Linked DNA regions of Homo sapiens: region 2 is linked to region 1. The links are contacts of gene promoters, found by promoter capture Hi-C in human tissues and cell types (Jung and others, 2019). All regions are on one chromosome and are shown on one strand. The core of a region is centred on a gene start or on the middle of the fragment in contact, and the rest is flanking DNA. Distances in the headings are between cores, read along the strand shown.

Evidence for each region. The method cuts DNA at HindIII sites, captures the fragments that hold promoters and counts their contacts. A contact is called where the count stands out against the background at its distance.
Region 2: a contact is called between a fragment that was not itself captured here and the fragment with the promoter of CTCF in region 1, in 1 of the 25 tissues and cell types used here (pancreas).

Annotation. Positions count from the first base shown.
Region 1 is chr16:67,560,653-67,564,838 of GRCh38, reverse strand. It overlaps CTCF (CCCTC-binding factor), which reads right to left and starts at 2,313. Exons shown (of 12, transcript NM_006565.4): 1 at 2,115-2,313. CTCF-DT (CTCF divergent transcript) reads left to right here and starts at 2,530. Exons shown (of 1, transcript NR_158165.1): 1 at 2,530-3,428. It overlaps LOC124903703 (a long non-coding RNA gene), which reads left to right and starts at 1,389. Exons shown (of 2, transcript XR_007065094.1): 1 at 1,389-1,544. RefSeq lists silencers at 1,242-1,341, 1,862-2,871 and enhancers at 1,095-1,957, 3,102-3,151, 3,172-3,221. The HindIII fragment of the contact is 9,573 bases long and covers 1-4,186 here.
Region 2 is chr16:67,764,052-67,768,237 of GRCh38, reverse strand. All of the region lies in intron 3 of RANBP10 (RAN binding protein 10), which reads left to right. Among named protein-coding and RNA genes, the nearest start is that of RANBP10, 40 kb to the left of the region's middle. The HindIII fragment of the contact is 7,139 bases long and covers 1-4,186 here.

The sequences.
Region 1 (4,186 bases), core at 1,064-3,563:
CCCAAGAAGCTGATGACTGCATATGAAACAACCAAACCAAGAAGCAAAATATGGTCTATGGAGCACAGTACTAACCCGGGAAAACAAGCTTTACTCCTGGCTCGATTATACACCTGCTGTATTTTAATTTTTAACTCAATGTTGAGCTTATTTAAATAAATAAAACATGCTACTTAACCACAATTTCAAAAGGAAAACAAAGTCACAAAAGAATGCAATAAATTACACAATTGGACTAACATATTAGATAATTAAAGGTGATTCTATTCCCAAGTCTAACTATCAATCAACGCTACTGCATTTAGTTACTCTATGCAATTTTATTGAGGAAGAGGGGTGGCAGGAATATTTTGCAGGGTTCCAAAAGGAGACATAGAAAGCGTGCCTACGAAGAGGACTGCAGTGAGGAGCTACACATTGAGATTACATACAGTGGACTGGACAACTTTGGTTAGGACCAGGCTGTTTAATTTCTTCATAAACTTAACATAGCTTCCTTCCTAAAAACAGGTTAATCCAGACTTTCTTCTCTCCAAAACAACCCGAACTGATACATTAACTGCTGCAATGAACTATATTAAGGCACTAGAATATTTACGGAAAAGCAAAAGACTCCCGCAATTCAACGGGATGCTTTTTAGTGAAGAAAGAAAACTTAAGGACCGAATAAATTTAAATATATGCCTTGTTTAACTTCCTTTCCCACCTATGAGGACTTGGTTTTTAACTTTCCTAGTTGATCGAAACTCAAAGTATGAAGACTACGTATGCGAATGTTTACTTAACGCTGAACTCGGGGCTACAGGAAGTCTCCTACTAAACAGTAGTTACATTAGGCGTAGATATTTATAAACCATCTGCAGCAAGTGACCCAGGATTCAATTACAACATCAACCCTCATATTTCATCGCATGGGCAAATTACCAGTCGAGTCAAGAATAAACTCATTCTGCCCTACTGGCGCTCTAGATCGAGTTGCACAATCCTGGGGCAGAACCGCCTTCACCTAGCCCTAGAGCATCAGGTACTAAGTTAGTGTGAGGACATTTTAAAGCGGGAGGGAAACTCAAGGGACTTAGCCCATACTCCCAAATTCAGAAATTTGTCACGTCACTTGAGATCAGAATGAAATTTAAGTTTCAGTCCCTTTGAGATCTCTGAGCGCACAAAGTCAGGCTGCTATCACTCGGCTGGGGAGTCCGAACCCGGCTGGATAAAAACTACTTGGTGCGGAACTCGCATCTTTTCCGCCCACCGTGGGGGGGCCGCACCGGTCGGGTCCGGCCAGGAACCCGGGCGCGAGTTTGGGGGCGCAGCGGGGGCGGCGAGCGCGCGTCCCCCCGCCCGCTCAGGCAGCGTAGAGGTGCGAGCAGCTCAGCCAGCCTTGCAGAGGGAGCTCTCGGCAGCTCTGGGGTCCCTCTGCTCGCAGCCGCTGCAGCGCCGCCTGCGCCACTCGGCGGAGACGGAGACCAGCGGCGGCGACGCGCGGACTGGGAGCGACCGCCGAGCAGCCAAGCAGCTGGGAAGGCACGCAGGCCGGCAGGGTAGGTTCCGGGGACGGGGCTGGCTGGAGGAGGGGCAGCCCGAGACGCGACGGCCAGGGCCCGACACCCATACGGCACCGGGACCTGGCTTAGCGCGCGGCGGCAGTCGGTCCGAACCCTTAAGCTAGGCGGGCGCCGAAGCCGGGACGCGGAGATAGTGTCTCAGCTGGGGCCACCCGCCGCGGGAGGGGCGGAGGACACAGGACAGAGGGCGGGCCGCGGCCGGGCGATCGGCCGGCCAAGAACCGGCCTCGAGGGCAGACAAAGGAAGGAAAATGGAGTCGCCGGGCGCGCGGGCCTCTGCCTCTGCCGCCGCCCGAGGCCTAGCGCGCTGCCAGGAGGGAGGCCTAGCGGGCGGGCGGGCGGGCGGGCGTGGGGGTGGGGGGGGCGGCCGGGCCACGGCGGCGACGGGCAATGGCGGCGGCCGCGCCGCAGCAGGGACGGTAGAGGGAGACAAACACCCCCCGGCGGCGGCGCTGGCGCCGGGCTGCAGCCAGCGCCGACCGGAGCGGCCCCATCGTGACACCTAGAGGCGGCCCGCGAAACCTCCTCCACCCCGGGCCCCCTTACCTCCGCGCCACACCCCCCGCGGCGCCCGCTCCGCCGCCGCTCCACGGCTCCGGCCACCCGGCGTCTCCGGCGAGCTCCGCGCGTCCGCACCGGCCACCGCCGCCGCCGCTGCCGCCAAAGAAGCAGCTCCGCGCACGGTTTAATCGCTCCACAGGCTCAGACACAAAATGGCGGCGGCGCGGTGCAGTGCGCCTGCGTCGGCGCTGCCGGGGCCGCGGGTGCTGATAAGGGAAGGGACGGGTGGGGGGACCGGCCGGGCGGCGAGTAGAGGGCGGGGGAGGAAAGGTGAGGGGAGGGGTTGGCGCAGGGCAGCATGGGAGGCGGCCCCGGGCGCCAACTTTCAAAAGCGGGCGCGATGGCGTCACGGGACGCGCCGCGAGTCGCGTCGTCACGCCGCACGCGCCCTCGCCGGGTCGCTCGTGGGCTCTGCCGGCGCCGCGGCGTCCTGGCTCCCGCTGGGTGGGGCTTCCTGGGCGGAGGCCGCCGCCCCTGGGCGGTGCCGGATCCAGTCCGCTTGACCTTATTCCCTAGCTGCTGTCTCCGGCCCCCTGAACCCGTACAGGGTTGGGGAAGTGGGGGTGGCTGGAGGAAGCGCGCGCGGGGCAAGCCAGTGGGGCTGAGGAGGCTCCCGGGCCCGGCCCCGCCCAGTCTCCGCCCCAGCCAGGCCCGACCCGCCCTCCGAATGTCTTACAGCTGCCCGCCCCAGAGTAAGGCCCGGTCGGTTCCCGCGCGCTCCCAGCTCCGTGCCCGCGAGCGACGACTGGAAGGGCTGTCCTTGCTCAGCGGCTTTTGGTGATCTCTCCGCCCTAGAAGAGGGCCACCTAAAAGCGGGTGCGAGAGGAGAGTGGGAGGGCCTCCTCTTGGTGTCCCCAGGCCACCTCAGCCCGGAGAGGTGGCGGAAAACCAGACTTGATGCTTTAACACGTTCATAGCAATCGCTTTTTACTGAAAGGAGTTTCTGTATTTAGCGCTGTGTAATTCTGTGGAAACGTGCATTTCTTGTCTTTGCGGGAGAGCTGTTCTCTGTGGGCGGAGACCTTCAGTCCCACCCCTCCCCAGGAGGCGCCTGCGGACCCTTCCCAACCTGCAGTCAAGTTGACCAAGAACTGACTGCAAGGTGCTGGTGGCTCTGGGATGAGAGCCTTTTGGTACTTACAGGGAATATGACTCTTCCCTTAGATATCAAATGGACCCAATATCTAGGGAGCAGCTTCTTCTCCATCCATCTGACCGTTCCGTTGTGAGAATGCTGGCCCAATAACATACTCTTTTTTTTTCCCCTAAAGGAATAAAAAAATCTGTATTTTTAAGATGTCAAATCTCCAGAGTTTTTAGATGTTAGCAACTGAATCAGATGTTTTTAAACTTCATGAGCTGATTAAACCACACAGATGAGCTGTCAGTTTACGACCCCTGGCTTGGCTTGGAGGAAAGAGTGAAGAGAAATTCCATGGCCAAATCCTGGGGCACTCCAATATTGGGAGGGTAATGGAGAAGGAGTCTGAAAGGCAGCATCTAGGAAGTCATGAAAGCTAGCGCTGAGTTGTGGAATCCCTGGGCAGAGAAGGTTTCAGGTAGGAGGCATCAGCTGAGCGGTGTGATAAACTTGGGCCAGAGATGTGGCTATTGGATTGGGTCACCTTGCAAGTCACTGGAGAATGTCACTGATGGCCTTGGCTTGATTCACGTGAGTATATCAGGGAGGTGGACCTGACCGGAATGGGTTAAACAGTCACCAGGAAAGTGAGGAAATGGAGACAGCACATGTATGCAATTTGAGAGAGGTTTTGCTGTGAAGGGACCAGATAAGTTTGGGGATAGATATAGAAAGAAATCTTTTAAAAGATAGTAGGGGCCGGGCGCAGTGGCTCACGCCTGTTATCCTAGCACTTTGGGAGGCCAAGGCAGGTGGATCACCTGAGGTCAGGAGTTCGAGACCAGCCTGGCCAATATGGTGAAACCCGGTCTCTACTAAAAATACAAAAATTAGTTGGGCATGGTATCGCGCGCCTGTAATCCAAGCTACTGGGGAGGCTGAGGCAGGAGAATTGCTTGAACCCGGGAGGCAGAGG
Region 2 (4,186 bases), core at 589-3,088, 200 kb before region 1:
TTTTTGTATTTTTTGTAGAGACAGGGTTTTGCCATGTTGCCCAGGCTAGTCTTGAAGTGAGCTCAAGCAGTCCACTCATCTCGGCCTCCCAAAGTGCTGGGATTACAAGTATGAGTCATCATGCCTAGCCGTATGTTCTTTTTTCTTTAATAAAAACCTTTTTTTTTTTTTTTGAGACAAGGTCTTGCCCTGTTGCCCAGGCTGGGGTTCAGTGACATGATATGGTTCACTGCAACTTTGACCTCCCAGGCTTAAGTGATCCTCTCACCTTAGTCTCCTGAGTAGCTGGGACTACAGGTGCACACCACCATGCCTGGTTAATTTTTAAAATTTTCTTGTAGAGGCAGGGCGCGGTGGCTCATGCCTGTAATCCCATCACTTTGGGAGGCCAAGGCGGGTGGATCACAAGGTCAGGAGATCAAGACCATCCTGGCTAACACGGTGAAATCCCATCTCTACTAAAAATACAAAAAATTAGCCGGGCGCGGTGGTGGGCGCCTGTACTCCCAGCTACTCGAGAGGCTGAGGCAGGAGAATGGCGTGAACCTGGGAGACAGAGCTTGCAGTGAGCTGAGGTAGCGCCCTAGCACTCCAGCCTGGGTGAAAGAGCGAGACGCCGTCTCAAAAAAAAAAAAAATTGTAGAGACAAGGTCTCCCTGTGTTGCCCAGGCAGGTCTCTAACTCCTGGGCTCAAGCAATCCTCTCATCTAGGCCTCCTAAAGTACTGGGATTATAGGCGCGAGTTACAGTGCCTGGCTTTTTTTTTTTTTTTTTTTTTTTTTTGAAACAGGGTCTCGCTGTTGCCCAGCTTGGAGTATAGTGGAGTGGTCACGGCTCACTGCAGCCCTGAATTCATAGGCTCAAATGATCTTCCTGCCTCAGCCTCCCAAGTAGCTGGGACTACAGGTGTATACCACCATGCCTGCCTAGTAAAAACTGTTTTTGTGTCACCCATTGAGTTTGAGATCCATGGAGTGGAGTAGACGAGGTGAGAGGTGTTCAGAGTCTGCTGGGCTGATCTGAGTCTCTTTGAGATGGGACCATATGGAGCCAGCCTAGTCTGTTTCTCTTTTTCACAATATGAGACTTAACCTCTCTGGGCTGGTCTGAAGCCAGCTACTGGTCATGTCCTTTGACATTGCTAATACAAAGCTGTAGGAAAATCTATTTTCCTCATGGGTGCACTTCTCTTTGGCAAGGGAAAGGGGCCTAACTGTTCAGTGGATATTGCACTTGTCTTTGTTTCACTCTGCCTGCCAACTCCTCAGGGTTTTCCTTCCTGCCATATCTGATCATCTCCCTGATTGTCTTTAAGGTGGAAAGGAGGAATCAGATTGCATCTAGATACCACTTCTCCCTGGGAAGGATGGATGCCCCTGGCTTTTCCAGAATACAGGGCTAGCTGAATGTCCGGTCAGATCCAGTACAGGGCAGGTGGGAGGATGGAGTAAAGGGCACCCCTCTCAGGGGTGATAGTGGGCCTTTTTGTTAGTTTGTGTTCCTGTCAAGGAATACCTGAGGCTGGATCATTTATAAAGAAAAGAGTTTTATTTGGCTCATGATTCAGGGCTGTACATGCCTAGCTCCAGCATCTGCTTCTGGTGAGGGCCTATGGAAGCTTAAAATTATGGTGGAATGGAAGGGGAGCTGGTATATCACATGGCTAGAGAGAGCAGTGTGGGGGCGGGGGGTACCAGACTCCTTTTCAAACAACCAGATCTCATGTGAACTAATTACCGCTGGGAGGGCACCAAGCCATTCATGAGGAATGCTAGTGTAACCCAAACACCTCCCACCCACCAGGCTCCATTCCATCATTGAGAATCACATTTCAACAGGAGATTTGGAGGGGACAAACATCCAAACTGTATCAGCTTGCCGTTATTCATTGCAGTACTGGGTTTTGAAGTCGGAATCCCTTTTGGTGCTTTCCAGTTTCTGGGATCACTTTTTTATTTCTGGTGATGAGCATACATTTTGCAAAACCGAAAGCATCATCATTCATAAACAGAGATGAAGGTCCTGGTATTTTGGTGGGGAGGTGGGATGGAAGACGACAGCAGCTAAAGCCTTTCTGCCAGCCGCTGCTGATTTCCAAGAGGCTCTTCGTTGAGATGCAGGTCAATTGGATGGTTCAGATGTGTGGTTGGTAGGAGGCAGTAGTGGTGGTGGCCTAGGCTGGGTCCAGATTTTGAGACTTTGGTGTTTGTTTATTTATTTATTTATCTGAGACAGGGTCTTACTCTGTCTCCCAGACTAGTGCAGTGGCACAGTCACAGCTCACTGCAGCCTCAACCTCCTGGGCCGAGTGCTCCTTCCACCTCAGCCTCCCAAGTAGCTGGTACTACAGGCACATGCCACCATGTCTGACTTATTTATTTATTTATTATAATTTATTTATTTAGATGGAGTCTTGCTGTGTTCCCCAGGCTGGAATGCAGTGGCGCGATCTCGGCTCACTGCAAGCTCCGCCTCCTGGGTTCACGCCATTCTCCTGCCTCAGCCTCTCGAGTAGCTGAGACTACAGGCGCCCACCACCACACCTGGCTACTTTTTTGTATTTTTAGTAGAGATGGGGTCTCACCGTGTTAGCCAGGATGGTCTCGATCTCCTGACCTCGTGATCCGCCCACCTCAGCCTCTCAAAGTGCTGGGACTACAGGCGTGAGCCACTGCACCCAGCCCCGACTAATTTATTTATTTATTTTTTTGAGATGGAGTTTTGCTCTTGTTGCCCAAGCTGGAGTGCAATGGCACAATCTCGGCTCATCGGCAACCTTCGCCTCCCGGGTTCAAGCGATTCTCCTGCCTCAGCCTCCCGAGTGGCTGGGATTACAAGCACGCACCACCACGCCCAGCTAATTTTGTATTTTTAGTAAAGACAGGGTTTCTCCATGTTGGTCAGGCTGGTCTCGAACTCCCAGCCTCAGGTGATTCACCTGCCTTGGCCTCCTAAAGTGCTGGGATTACAGGTGTGAGCTACTGCACCTGGCTAATTTATTTTTTAATGTTTTTTTTTTTTTTTTTTTTTTTTTTTTTGAGATGGAGTCTTGCTCTGTCACCCAGGTTGGAGTGCAGTGGTGCAATCTTGGCTCAGTGCAACCTCCGCCTCCTGGGCAAGTGATTCTCCTGCCTCAGCCTCCCAAAGTGCTGGGTTTACAGGCATGAGCCACTATGCCCATCTAAGTTTGCTGTTTTGACCGGTACTTACACATCTTTGTGCAAAGTTCTTGTTTTTGCTTCTCGTACTATTTATGAGGAGTGTTAATGTTTTAATATAGTTAAGATGTTCAAGTTTATAGCCGTTACATTTTATTGGACTAGACTGTTTTTGGATTTCATTAGCAACATGCCTGTTTCTTTGATGGCCTTATCAATCAGACTTTTATTAAATGTTCCAAAATGTTCTACTGGCATTTCAGATTGATAATGTGTTGCATAAAATCTATGGATTAGTATGGGAAACCTCAATCTTACTGAAAATTTAGTCTTCCGAACCAGAAATGACATATGTCTGTTTATTTTTACATTGCTTTATTTAATTTATAGACAGGATCTCACTCTGTCCCCCATGCTGGGGTACAGTGGCACGATCATAGCTCACTGTGACAGGATTGACAAGCCCTATGGGAGGTGATTCAGCTGGACTTGGTGTCTTCACAGTAGATTATTAGACTGCAAGCTACGAGGAGTGTGCCTCTAGAGTGTTCCTGATAATTTGTTTTAAGAATGCTTTTATTAATAAAATGGCCTGGCAATGGCCATTTTATTACTATTTTTTTCTCTGTTCTGGCTTCTCGGTACAATGGCCATTTTAGATACTGAGTCTCAGTGTTGTTAGGAGCAAGTGGGCAGGATGTGAGTTAAGCGGCCCTTATCTGAGTCAGCCCAAGAAAAGAGGTTAACTTAGAAATTCTACCCTTGGCCTGCCCAGCCGCTGCTGTCTTAGAAGTACTTGGTCTTTAGCCTTTTATGAGCCCTCGGAAGAGAGGCTTGGGACGAAGGAGAGGCCCAAGTGTGGAACTAAGCCCCTTTTCTTCTGGGACCTGATCTGGTTGAGTGTTTGAAACCAACAAGAACTGATGAGACTGGCCTGAGAGAGCCTCTGCCTCTTTCTCTCTGAAGTAAGTGTTTCTTGAATATAGAGGATAATCTGCATCTCCCTGATTTCCACCTGTACATTGGAC